Linked DNA regions of Homo sapiens: region 2 is linked to region 1. Evidence: promoter capture Hi-C in 16 types of primary human blood cells and fetal thymus (Javierre and others, 2016). All regions are on one chromosome and are shown on one strand. Each heading gives the region's core, a stretch centred on a gene start or on the middle of the fragment in contact. The rest is flanking DNA. Distances are from core to core; before and after follow the strand shown. Region 1 holds the start of SMC3 (structural maintenance of chromosomes 3). Region 2 holds the start of GPAM (glycerol-3-phosphate acyltransferase, mitochondrial).

Region 1 (5,355 bases), core at 1,086-3,585:
GATCTTTTTTTCTGCCTATATAAATTATATAAGCTAATTGTATAAGCTTCATTTAATATGGAAAAGCCTAAGGAAGAAAGTAAAACTCCCATCACTGTGAAAGCCATTCAAATGTTTTAGTCACCATCTTTTCATATTTTGCCTACATATGTATAAACAATTTTAGGTAGATAGGATTATCTTATACATCCTGTTTGTAATTCTAAATATGATGGAGTTTTATCATCTTCATTTTATAGACTAGGAAGTGGAGGCTTAGAATTTTTTTTTTTGAGACAGAGTCTCGCTCCATCACCCAGGCTGGAGTGCAGTGTCAGTCTCGGCTCACTGCAACCTCTGCCTCCTGGGTTCAAGTGATTCTCCTGCCTCAGCTTCCTGAGTAGCTGAGATTACAGGCGTCTGCACCACGCCCAGCTAATTTTTGTATTTTTAGTAGAGACGGAGTTTTGCCATGCTGAGCCTCCACTTCCTAGTCTATAAAATGAAGATGATAAAACTCCATCATATTTAGAATTACAAACAGGATGTATAAGATAATCCTATCTGCCACGTTGGCCAGACTGTTCTGAAACTCCTGACCTCAAGTGATCCACCCACCTGGGCCTCCCAAAGTGCTGGGATTACAGGCGTGAACCACCATACCTGTCCTAAGCTTTAAATAATACAACTAAAATCTAGAAGTAAAATGTTTAGATTGAGTGCAGTGGCTCATTCCTGTAATCCCAGCATTTAGGGAGGCAGAGGTGGGAGGATCGCTTGAGGCCAGAAGTTAGAGACCAGCCTGGGCAACATAAGGAGACCTGGTCTCTACAAAAACAAAAAAAAGCTGGGCTTGGTGGCCACAGCCTGTAGGCTGAGGTGGGAGGATGGCTTGAACCCAGGAGTTTGAGGCTGCAGTGAACCATGACCGAGCCACTATGCTCCAGCTCCACCCTGGGTGACAGAGCAAGATCCTGTCAAAAAAAAAAAAAAAAGTTAGAAATAAAGAAAAGAAAATGCTTACATATTTATTTAATTTATTTTGAGACAGTCTCGCTCTGTTGCCCAGGCTGGAGTGCAGTGGCGCGATCTTGGCTCACTGCAACCTCTGCCTCCTGGATTCAAGCAATTCTCCTGCCCCAGCCTCCCGACTAACTGGGATTACAGGCACCCGCCACGACGCCCAGCTAATTTTTGTATTTCGAGTAGAGACGGGGGTTTCGCCATGCTGGCCAGGCTGGTCTTGAACTCGTGACCTCAGGTGATCCTCCCCCCTCAGCCTCCCAAAGTGCTGGGATTACACGCTTGAGCCACTCGACCAGGCCTATTTATTTTTTTAAACCAAGGGCTGGATAGGATTTGATCCGGGCTCCAGATAAAGGACTCCTAGGGAGATACCCTGGTTAGCAGAGGCAGTTAGGAGGCTACTAAAAATAGTTCAATCTAGAAATAATTAGGGCCAGAATTGTCTCCAGCAGCGGGCGGGGGTGGGGCTGGGGATGATTTGGGTAGTTATTTTGTTCTCTTCCCAGCAAGTAATTTCAGAGCAGCCCAGAGATTCATTTTCTAAACAAATGATGTTTTTCTCCCAAGACTGACAAGGATCAGACAGACCTAGGGTTGCCACTAGCACCTAGTATCTTTCAGGCTGTTTTCTTTTGTTTTTAAAGTGGATTAAAAGCTTTCAGCCTTACCTAAATCTTTGTTGCAATTGTACAGATCTGCCTAGATTTATAGCAGATGGTAGAACAGAAACAGTTCCCGACGGAATTAATCATCACATTATTAAAACAAATTTTCGAGCATTGACAAATCCCTTCGGGGTTGTCCTCCGAGTGGGCAATTCGTAACCAGCTTGGGGCGTGCTAAGATTGTAAACGTTCCTATGGAGAGCGATAACAAAGGGGCAGCAGTGACTCCGCACACAGAATTCCAAGAATCACCAGCATTCCATGTGTTCCAAGGCTAGCACAGTGCGCGCGAGGTCCGCTTTTTTAAACAGCGCGGAATCACGTGGCCGACAGCCCGCGGCGCTACTGGCCCTCGGAGTCTCCCTCTTGGCTTTGGCGCGGAACCTTTCCCCCTTTGTGGACGCGACCATTGGCCCCGCGCTCGGAGGTGGTACGGACCAACCCTACGGTCATAGATTTTCCGAGTGAAGCTTTTGACTAAGTCTCAGGAAAGCGTTAGCTACAGAATTCTAGATTCAAAAGAAATCCACCAAAAAACGCTGTGGAGGACTGGTTTTGCCTAAAAGAAAGAGCAGACCTGAACTTGACTCCTCCTACGCCCTGTGAAGGCTGCAAGGTGGTTCCGTCCGAGGCGCGGACTCCGCCCCCACGAGCGCCGCCATTTTGTTTGGCTGAGGGGAGCGAGCGGCGCTTTGGGGGAGGGGTCGCGTAGGCGCCTCACCTGACCCTGCGGCCGTGCGGTTGCTGCTCCGGGGCAGGTCTCCTTCCAGGCCAGGGGCCCGGAATCATGTACATAAAGCAGGTAAGGCCTTCGCGTCCCTCCACCCCGTCATGGGCCGGTAAGGGCCGCTCCTTGAGGCGGGAGTGTTGCGGCGCCACCCGCAGCCTCTCCCCTGTCTCCACAGGCTGGACCAGGGCTGGGCGGGGACTGTGGGGGAGGAGGGAGACCCGGGTCCCGCTAGTGCCCCGGCTGCGGGGTCGCGGAGAATTGGGGCACTCCTTTGCAGCCCCGGCCTCCCTGCTGGCGCTTGTCTGGGAGAGGCAGGATCTCCGAGAGGTGTGGAAGGGCCGGCGGGCGGGCCGCTGGGAGGGACTGGGCCTTCCTGGGTGGCCCCAGAGCTGGCGGGGGGCACCCCGCCGGGGCGGCCGCGGGCGGGAAGGGCTGTGTGGTCCTGCAGGGGTGGCCTCACACGGCCCATGTGCCTGGGATGTGTGGAAAGGTGGCTTCCCCGGCCCGGGGGCGGCCCTGGGGGCATTGGCTGGGGTGTCGTCACCTGTCACTGCGGGGAGCCGTTCTTCTCCCCAGTTAACCCGCGAAGTGAGCGGGACCCTCCTGCTTGCAGGATACGGAGCGCCGCCTCCCTCGGTTGTTTACTTCTGTCAAAATGGTCTTCCCGCGCGGGACTCCACCACAAAGATGAGCCCAGGCACACGGCCTTGGAGACGGTTTTCTGTTGGGTCTGTCGGGCTCTGAGCACTCCTTCTTTGGAACGTGGGTTCTTTCAGGCTGGCCGGCGTGAGTGACTGAAAGCAGCACTCGGTGGTCTTGGAGTCAGGAGAGCTGGGGCCCGTCGGCCTGCTTTTATAGACTTGCTATTGTACTGCAGCGTTTAGGGTTCAGTTAAGCTCACACAGTGTTTTTGATTTTGAAAGGTCCTTAACAGGTTGACAGCATAACTCCTAAAAAAAAATAAAACCCAGCAGCATTGCCTTGGCAAAGATTACCGATAAAAGTACCTTTTTTTTTTTTTAGCAGATTTTTAATCACCACTTTCCAAAATGAATTTTTCTTATATGAAATTTCGAGTTTTCTATATTGCATTAAATGAAAAACAAGAAAGAAATGCAAGAGAAAAATGTTAATTTTTTTTGTGGGGTGGGTTCTCAAAAATGTTTTTTATTTACTAGGTGATTATCCAGGGTTTTCGAAGTTACAGAGATCAAACAATTGTAGATCCCTTCAGTTCAAAACATAATGTGATTGGTAAGTGTTCTTGGTTTACTCGGTCATATTTATAGTCTATACAGATAATGTAAATTCTGTCCATTTCTATATTGGCTTAAGGAGACAGGAATTGTCTTTGAATATTAAGTTATATTTTTCTGCGTGAAATAACTTTTCTGTCTTATTGCACTGATGAATTGCTTATTTTTATAAACTTAAAATGTTTGGATAAGACACTCATAAGTTATCCATTTTTTATCTAGGTAGCCTTGTATGTGTGTGTAAGAGTGTTTTAAAGCATTTCCGCTCTTCTGTTCTTGTTATATATCCTAGTGAAAATGCTGACTGTTGCCTTATTTCAGAGACAGACAATTTTTATTCACAAAGTAGATGCCAGGATTCCCCCCCCACCCCGGCAGTCAGTGTCTCTAAGGACAGACCATGTAGCTAGATTGGAAGAGCATAAACTTTGGAGCATAACAGAATGGGGTTCAAATCCCAGTTATAGGGGGGTGGGGGCCTGGGGGAGGGATAGCATTAGGAGAAATACCTAATGTAAATGTCGAGTTGATGGGTGCAGCAAACCAACATGGCACATGTATACCTATGTAACAAACCTGCATGTTGTGCACATGTATCCTAGTATAACAACAACGAAAAAAAAAATCCCAGTTGTGGCACACGTTCTTTTTCACTTTCTGAGAAGCTTCAGTTTTCTCATTTGTAAAGTGGAGATGATACCTGTCTCATAGGGCTGTTGAGAAGATTAAATGAGAAACCTTATGTAAGTGTGAAGATAAAGAGCTAATGGTGATTGCCATTAACAATATGTAGTCATTATAGATTGCTCAGATTGTAGTGTGCATTTTGCTGATACAGCTAACAAAAATGTTTTCTGACACTCTGCTGAGTATTTTACAGGATAGATGAAAGGAGTGCTTCTGGACACCAGAAACACAGACTGCTGTTGACACAGTTTTGCTGTACAGAGTCCAAACTAAGTGGTGTATTAGTTTGCTAAGGCAGCCATAACAAAATACCATAGACTGGTGGCTTAAACAAGATATTTTTTTTCTCATAGTCTGGAGGTCAGACATCCATGATCAGGATACCTGCATGGTTAGGTTCTCGTGAGGCTCTCTTCCTGGCTTATGGACAGCTGCTGTCTTGCTGTGTGCTCACATGGCCCCATCCTCATGTCCTCATTTAACCATAATCATCTTCCAGGGGTCCCCATGTCCAAATACTATCACATTCGGGATTAAGGTGTCAGTTGTTTCAGGGTGTCAGTTCAATTCAGTCTGTGGTGCGTGGGTGAGATTCACATTACTAATGTTTCCAGAAGACCTTTAGAGAATCATACTTCATTTTGTATAAAATGATAAAATTGAAGGCAGGTTTTTTTGCCCTCGATTTATCAATAGCAGCCTTGTAGTTGGGAATAAAGAAGGCATACTTTTTTTTTCCCTGCTTGTGCTCTGTCTACTGAAGTCATTTAATTGAATTGACATGCCATAGGGTGGCTTAATTGTACTGGGGTTTTGCTTACATATAAGTACTTTCTGATTTTTTTCATCAATCAGAAAATCTTTAGAAATGTAGAAAAATAAGAATTATTAGATTTCTGTTTTCTTTAACTTGCACCTTAAAATAAGTACCTTAATATTTCATTTGTGTGATTTTATAAATGATCTGTAACTTACTAGCTAGAATGATTACATTTTGTCTATAAGGTCCATC
Region 2 (5,355 bases), core at 1,749-4,248, 1.6 Mb after region 1:
GGAAACAGTACCCCTTGCTGCTTGACTCCTCATCTCCACCCTGAAAGAAGTGAAGCTACAAGAATGTCAGAGATTTCAGTTTTCCCAAAATACAAAGACCACGCTAAGTACCATGCAGTTATTGTTGCTTACTAAATCTCCCAAAATCCCTGACACAAAAGAGTTATCACCATTTTCTAGGTGAGAAACTAAGACCGGGAGAGGTTTAGGATTCAATCTTATGTCTTGATCTAAAGAGTATGGTCTTTCTATTACCCCTAAATAACTGTCCATTTAATGAGAAATCGTCTGTCTACTGGTCACCCTCTTTACATGTGATCTTGAAAGATAATCCAGAGATAGCTTTGCTGAAAAGATAGTCTATAGCTTTATCAATATGGGCAAAAAGGTAACTGTTCCACACTTAAATGCTGAAAAAGCACAATGTTCCCTCAACAAATATAAAACTACTTAAGTGGAATCTCTTTAGAGAAAAGGAAAATACGATTTCAGAGAAAAGATAGCAAATATTATACAGTTACCAATAAAAACATTTTTAAACAAATTATTTTAAATGATCATGTCATGGAAGTAATTCAAGATCAAGTTCAACTCCATCAGGTACTATAGTAGGGCAAAAATCAATTGTCTGTTGTACTATCTACCTTTACCCTTTACTCCAAACCATTACCACCACCAAATTATTTCCTATACCCTCTGACTTAAGAACACATTGTAGTTATTGTTTTAAGTATTCAAAATTAGAATTAGACTAGATGTCAGATCTAAAAAGAAAATGACATTCTGTTTAAATCTTGATTTCAAGTGACCTATTAATCTGAACTAGCTTTACTCCTAGGCTAGAAATTTCTGTGATTCTTGAATTCTACCAAATTCTTGCAACAAGGTAGTTGTGGTTTAAAAGAAGCAATATTTATAACAAGACATTCTTCAGCAGATCTGAACATTTAACATAAACTGCTTGGGTTCCACACAAATCTCTCCCATGTTAGTAAACCCCTTTATACCAGACTCAGAATTCTACTTTCTGCCAAACCAACCTTGAGTAGAAAATTCACACAGCACAATTACCTAGCCACACAAGTTACAAGCAACCTCTATAAATGGCAGGCACTTAAACGGCAGAATTTCTTCATCCTAATAACTGGATCCCAGAGAGAGCTTAACATCCAGATATGACTTTTAAAAGGCAATTCTACTGCCTTCAAACACAACTACGTGAAGTTCTTGTTCCTGTGCTAATTTGTCCTTCTCTTCAACTACCACCGAAAATATACCTCTCACCCACTTGGCTCTTCTCAAAGACTGCACTGTAATGCAAAAGATATTGCATGGCTTGTGTTTTTTCACCAAAATACAAACAACAAACCCATATACACTCTCTTAAATCTTCATTCTAACATTTTAGTGACAATCTTTCACTATCACAAAGTCAACAGACACCTTCCATTAGCAAAGGCTCAGAGCAAAGTCACAGCTTTAACTTCTTATTCTGTCCCATTATCTCTTTCTTATCTTGCTAGAATTTTAATGTTAAGTGCTAAAGTTCAACACCTAAAAGTTCATGAAGGTTCCCACTAACTCCTTTGAAGACTTAACCAAAAGTAAGATCTACTCTCCCCCTTAAAATCCTACTAAAACCTCAAAAGAACTAGAATGTTACCTAGTATCAATTATGGGACCAATATTTACTGAATAAATAAATGGAAAGAAAAAGTGTGTCAACATCTTTACTTGAAATATTTGGTTCATAAACATGGGTCTCTGTTCTGAAAGTGAATTTAGTCCAATAAGACTGCCTACTACAAAGTTGGAAATAATATTTTATGCTGAGTATTAGGGTCAATAAGCAGTAAGGTTCTTACCCAGCTCTGGGGAGTGCAGGAGTAACAACATCTTCCAACAAATGGCCTTTTCCGACTCATTAGGCTTTCTTTCCATTTTAAAGTTGCAGATCTGAAGATGGTGGGTCTAAAGCCACACTCACCCTGACAAATATTAAGAAAAAAATATAGTTTCTAAATGGCAAGAGAATACTTGTCTACTTGATCTCAAAATCTAAAGTATTTTGAACAGAAGAAAAACTTATGGCATATTCTGGGTGATTTTCATTTAAGTACTCCCTCCATGATCAACACTTGGATAAAAGCTTACCACATAAGCAAAAGCTGAGCACCCAAGGATAGTAATAGCTACACACTGAAGGCAGTATTCAAAAATTTAAAAACTAAATTGTAGAAGGTCAAACAGACTTCTGACAGCTAGATAAATCAATTCAGACTCCTGGATCTCTAGTCTAACAATTAACCTTACCCCCTTTTAAATCACACAGTCGCACTACAGAACTATAAAGGCCTTACATAGTGAGCAAGTTTTTATAATTTTACTTTAAATAAAAAACAGGTAAACTTATATAACATTCCTTTATCTTATCAAGGGAACTTAAAGACCAGAACTTAAATTATAGCTATACTATTCAATTAGGGTCAAACCTTGCTCTTCTATTCTAAAAATGCTTAACTTTGAGCTCAGTTGCTCACATCTCTGTTATACAGATATAACATTCTCAAAATTAAGCAAAAAAAAAAACCCCACCATTTTTTATATAAAGACAATTAAGATATTTAAAATACGTCATGTTATATTGAAATAGGAAAAACAATCCAAGAAAATGTACGCCTTTTGGATTGAATTCATACTATAAGTTCCTAATTTTTTAAAGTTTACTTCTATTATAAAATTCATGCTTTTCAAGTATAACTCATGGAAAGTACATACCAAGAGAAAGAAAGAAAAAAAAATTTCTTACCGACCCAAAACTACTACTAGGGTTTTTTTCCTATGCAAAATGATTATTTTGTTTTCTAACATAATCAGTGTACATAAATTTTCTAACCATTTTTTCTTCCCAATATAATGCCATAAAATTTTTTATTAGGCTTCATAAACATACCAGTTTCTGTAGCTATTAATCTTGATGTGATATTATGTTGCTGCCAGTATTTGCACCTTCATAAACATCATTGAAATGAACATTTTTAGGCTGAGTGCTTTTAACTCTTATCCTAAACTTACCCATTCCTCACTTGTGTGCTTACATCGACCAACACTGTATTCTGATGAATGTGGCAGATAAGAAACATCTATTGTACCAAGGGTCAGTGCAGATTCATCCATGTCACAAAGTGTAATTCCCAAATCATGTGCTATAAAAAATAGGTACCATTTAAATTAACAAGGAATCGAGAGAGTAAATACTAGAACTCAAAATTCTGATTTCTACATTACTTTGCTCCACAATGGGATATCACATGAACTGACAGACTTCTACCATGTTGAGTCACAAGGTAAAAACTGACTTTGATGTGTTTATATGAACACAGTTAGGCTTCCCTGACTAGAAAAAAAAAAAATCAGCATTTGTATTCTAAGACTTCCTGAATATATAAGGATACAACATTGTATCCTTTGTATCCACACAAAATAGCTATGAATAGTATCCAAACAAAACATAGTATGCAAACAAAATAGTATCCAAACAAAATAGCTATGAATTGTATCCAAACAAAATAGCTATGAATAGTCATTTGCAAATGAAAATAAGAGCTTATTCTTATTTCATTTTTGTTAATTGAATAGTTCCTGGCAGAAGGAAGGCATGTTTATTTAATTAAGGCAATTAGGGCACCCCTTAAGTTCCCGTACTTAAATTAAGATCTTAATTTTCTTGTGATGTCCTAAAAGAACATTTTCACTTTTAATACAAAGGTAATACAAAGCTACAAAGCTCTGAAAGAAAAGCACACTATTTTGAAATATCTGATGTATAAGTTTTCATCCTTTTCGATAAGCTTTTTTCTACCCTAAGGAAAAAGATTCACTAAGAGTAAACTCCTAGAATAGATATTAATCCAAAATATAAAAACTTTCAAACATAATCTCTAGCCTCACATTATTTTTGCTTTTGGCTGTTTCTCACCTGGCCTAAAATTATTCCTTTAAAATCCTGAAAGGTCATGTCTAGATTAACAGTGTTCCTTTGGAAGGCATATTCCAATTTCTTTACAATCCCCACATGGGTTGGCTACAGTCACTGTTATTCTCGGCATAACCACCTATGTCCTTAAAAATTTAACATAAGTACAATCTAACATAACAGGCTAGGGGAGAGAATAAACCAATGCACCTGGGATGAAAGTTCTTCTGTTTCATAACATAAAACTTCAGGACTCAGCTATCAGTTTCGGGTGCAGAATGTCCATACAACAGGGGAGCCGCTGCTGCCTGAGAAAATGAAGTGAAGAGAGGATGAGGAGAGGACAAAGAGGCTCGTTTGTGCCAACAGGAGGTCCACGTTTTGCACTTCCTCCCTCCGCACAGTTCGCTCTAGGTCAAGGAGTAATAAAGAAGCAATATCCCAGAGGCACCAGCCAGCAGCATGCGCTGAGAGAAGCTGACTAGAGGATCTGAAAAGGACAGAGGCTGGAAGACCAGCTGTGAGGTTTAAATCTTCCACTGCTTACCATCTGTGTGATTTTTTATTACCATAAGTTGGTTAACTTCTATGCCTTAGTTTTCCCATCTGGAAAATGGGCAGAATGATAGCTCTTAACCTCCTGGATTGTTGAGAGGACGGAATAATATAAACAAAGGGTCTACCACAGTGTGTAACACACAGTGAGCGCTCAGTCCAATCAATGGTAACGCTGTCATTAATTATCTCCAGCATACCGGCTGCTCTCAGAGTACCCCTTACTGCCTCAATGTTCCCTAGGGACCCAGGCGGGCTGGCTGGCGGCGCCTCCGCGCGTGCAGATACTTAGGGGACTGAGTCCATAAGGACTCCTTCCAACCCAGGGGAACCCATGCCCCAGCGCAGTCTCCCCAGGAGAGATGAATCCTGATCCCCACCCCTGCACGAGCCCGACCGATTTCTCAGGGAGAAGACCGGAGCTCGGGTGTCAGGGAATAGGGGACACGACTGCCCCAGCAACTTGCAGGAGTCGCACCACCTCCATGCACTTGTCCCGGCGCTCCCGGCCCGAGTAGCCTCCCGCAGCCCACACCTGCCCTGGCAGTTCGCACCCTAGCAGCTCCAGCTTCGGCTGCTGCAGAAGCCCGCACTTCCAGTCCCGGCCAATGCCAGCTGCAGTGGCGCACCCTGATGACGCAACCGGCGCGTGGCATTGACGCGGGGCCGCCGGCTAGCCAGCGCCGGGGGCGGGGCCCGGCCTGCGAGCCTCAGGGAGCGTGAGCGGATCCGAGGGTGTAATGTGTGTACTCGAGTGTGCGTGCCTGTGTGTGGCTAAAGATAGTGTGTGAGCGCCTGGACAGATGGTTACCCTGCCTAGGCCA

Evidence for each region. The method cuts DNA at HindIII sites, captures the fragments that hold promoters and counts their contacts. A CHiCAGO score of 5 or more calls a contact.
Region 2: a fragment that was not itself captured here is called in contact with the fragment with the promoter of SMC3 in region 1 in 5 of 17 cell types (naive CD4 T cells, total CD8 T cells, total CD4 T cells and 2 more); the score reaches 8.5 in naive CD4 T cells.

What each region holds. Positions count from the first base shown.
Region 1 is chr10:110,565,360-110,570,714 of GRCh38, forward strand. SMC3 (structural maintenance of chromosomes 3) reads left to right here and starts at 2,336. Exons shown (of 29, transcript NM_005445.4): 1 at 2,336-2,472; 2 at 3,579-3,654. The coding sequence starts at 2,458. LOC105378483 (a long non-coding RNA gene) reads right to left here and starts at 1,949. Exons shown (of 2, transcript XR_946318.2): 1 at 1,674-1,949. RefSeq lists enhancers at 639-1,341, 2,156-2,205, 2,216-2,315 and a silencer at 2,656-2,945. The HindIII fragment of the contact is 2,181 bases long and covers 2,139-4,319 here.
Region 2 is chr10:112,178,608-112,183,962 of GRCh38, forward strand. It overlaps GPAM (glycerol-3-phosphate acyltransferase, mitochondrial), which reads right to left and starts at 5,158. Exons shown (of 22, transcript NM_001244949.2): 1 at 5,086-5,158; 2 at 4,187-4,284; 3 at 3,076-3,206; 4 at 1,866-1,988. The coding sequence starts at 3,177. RefSeq lists a silencer at 5,076-5,305. The HindIII fragment of the contact is 1,702 bases long and covers 2,148-3,849 here.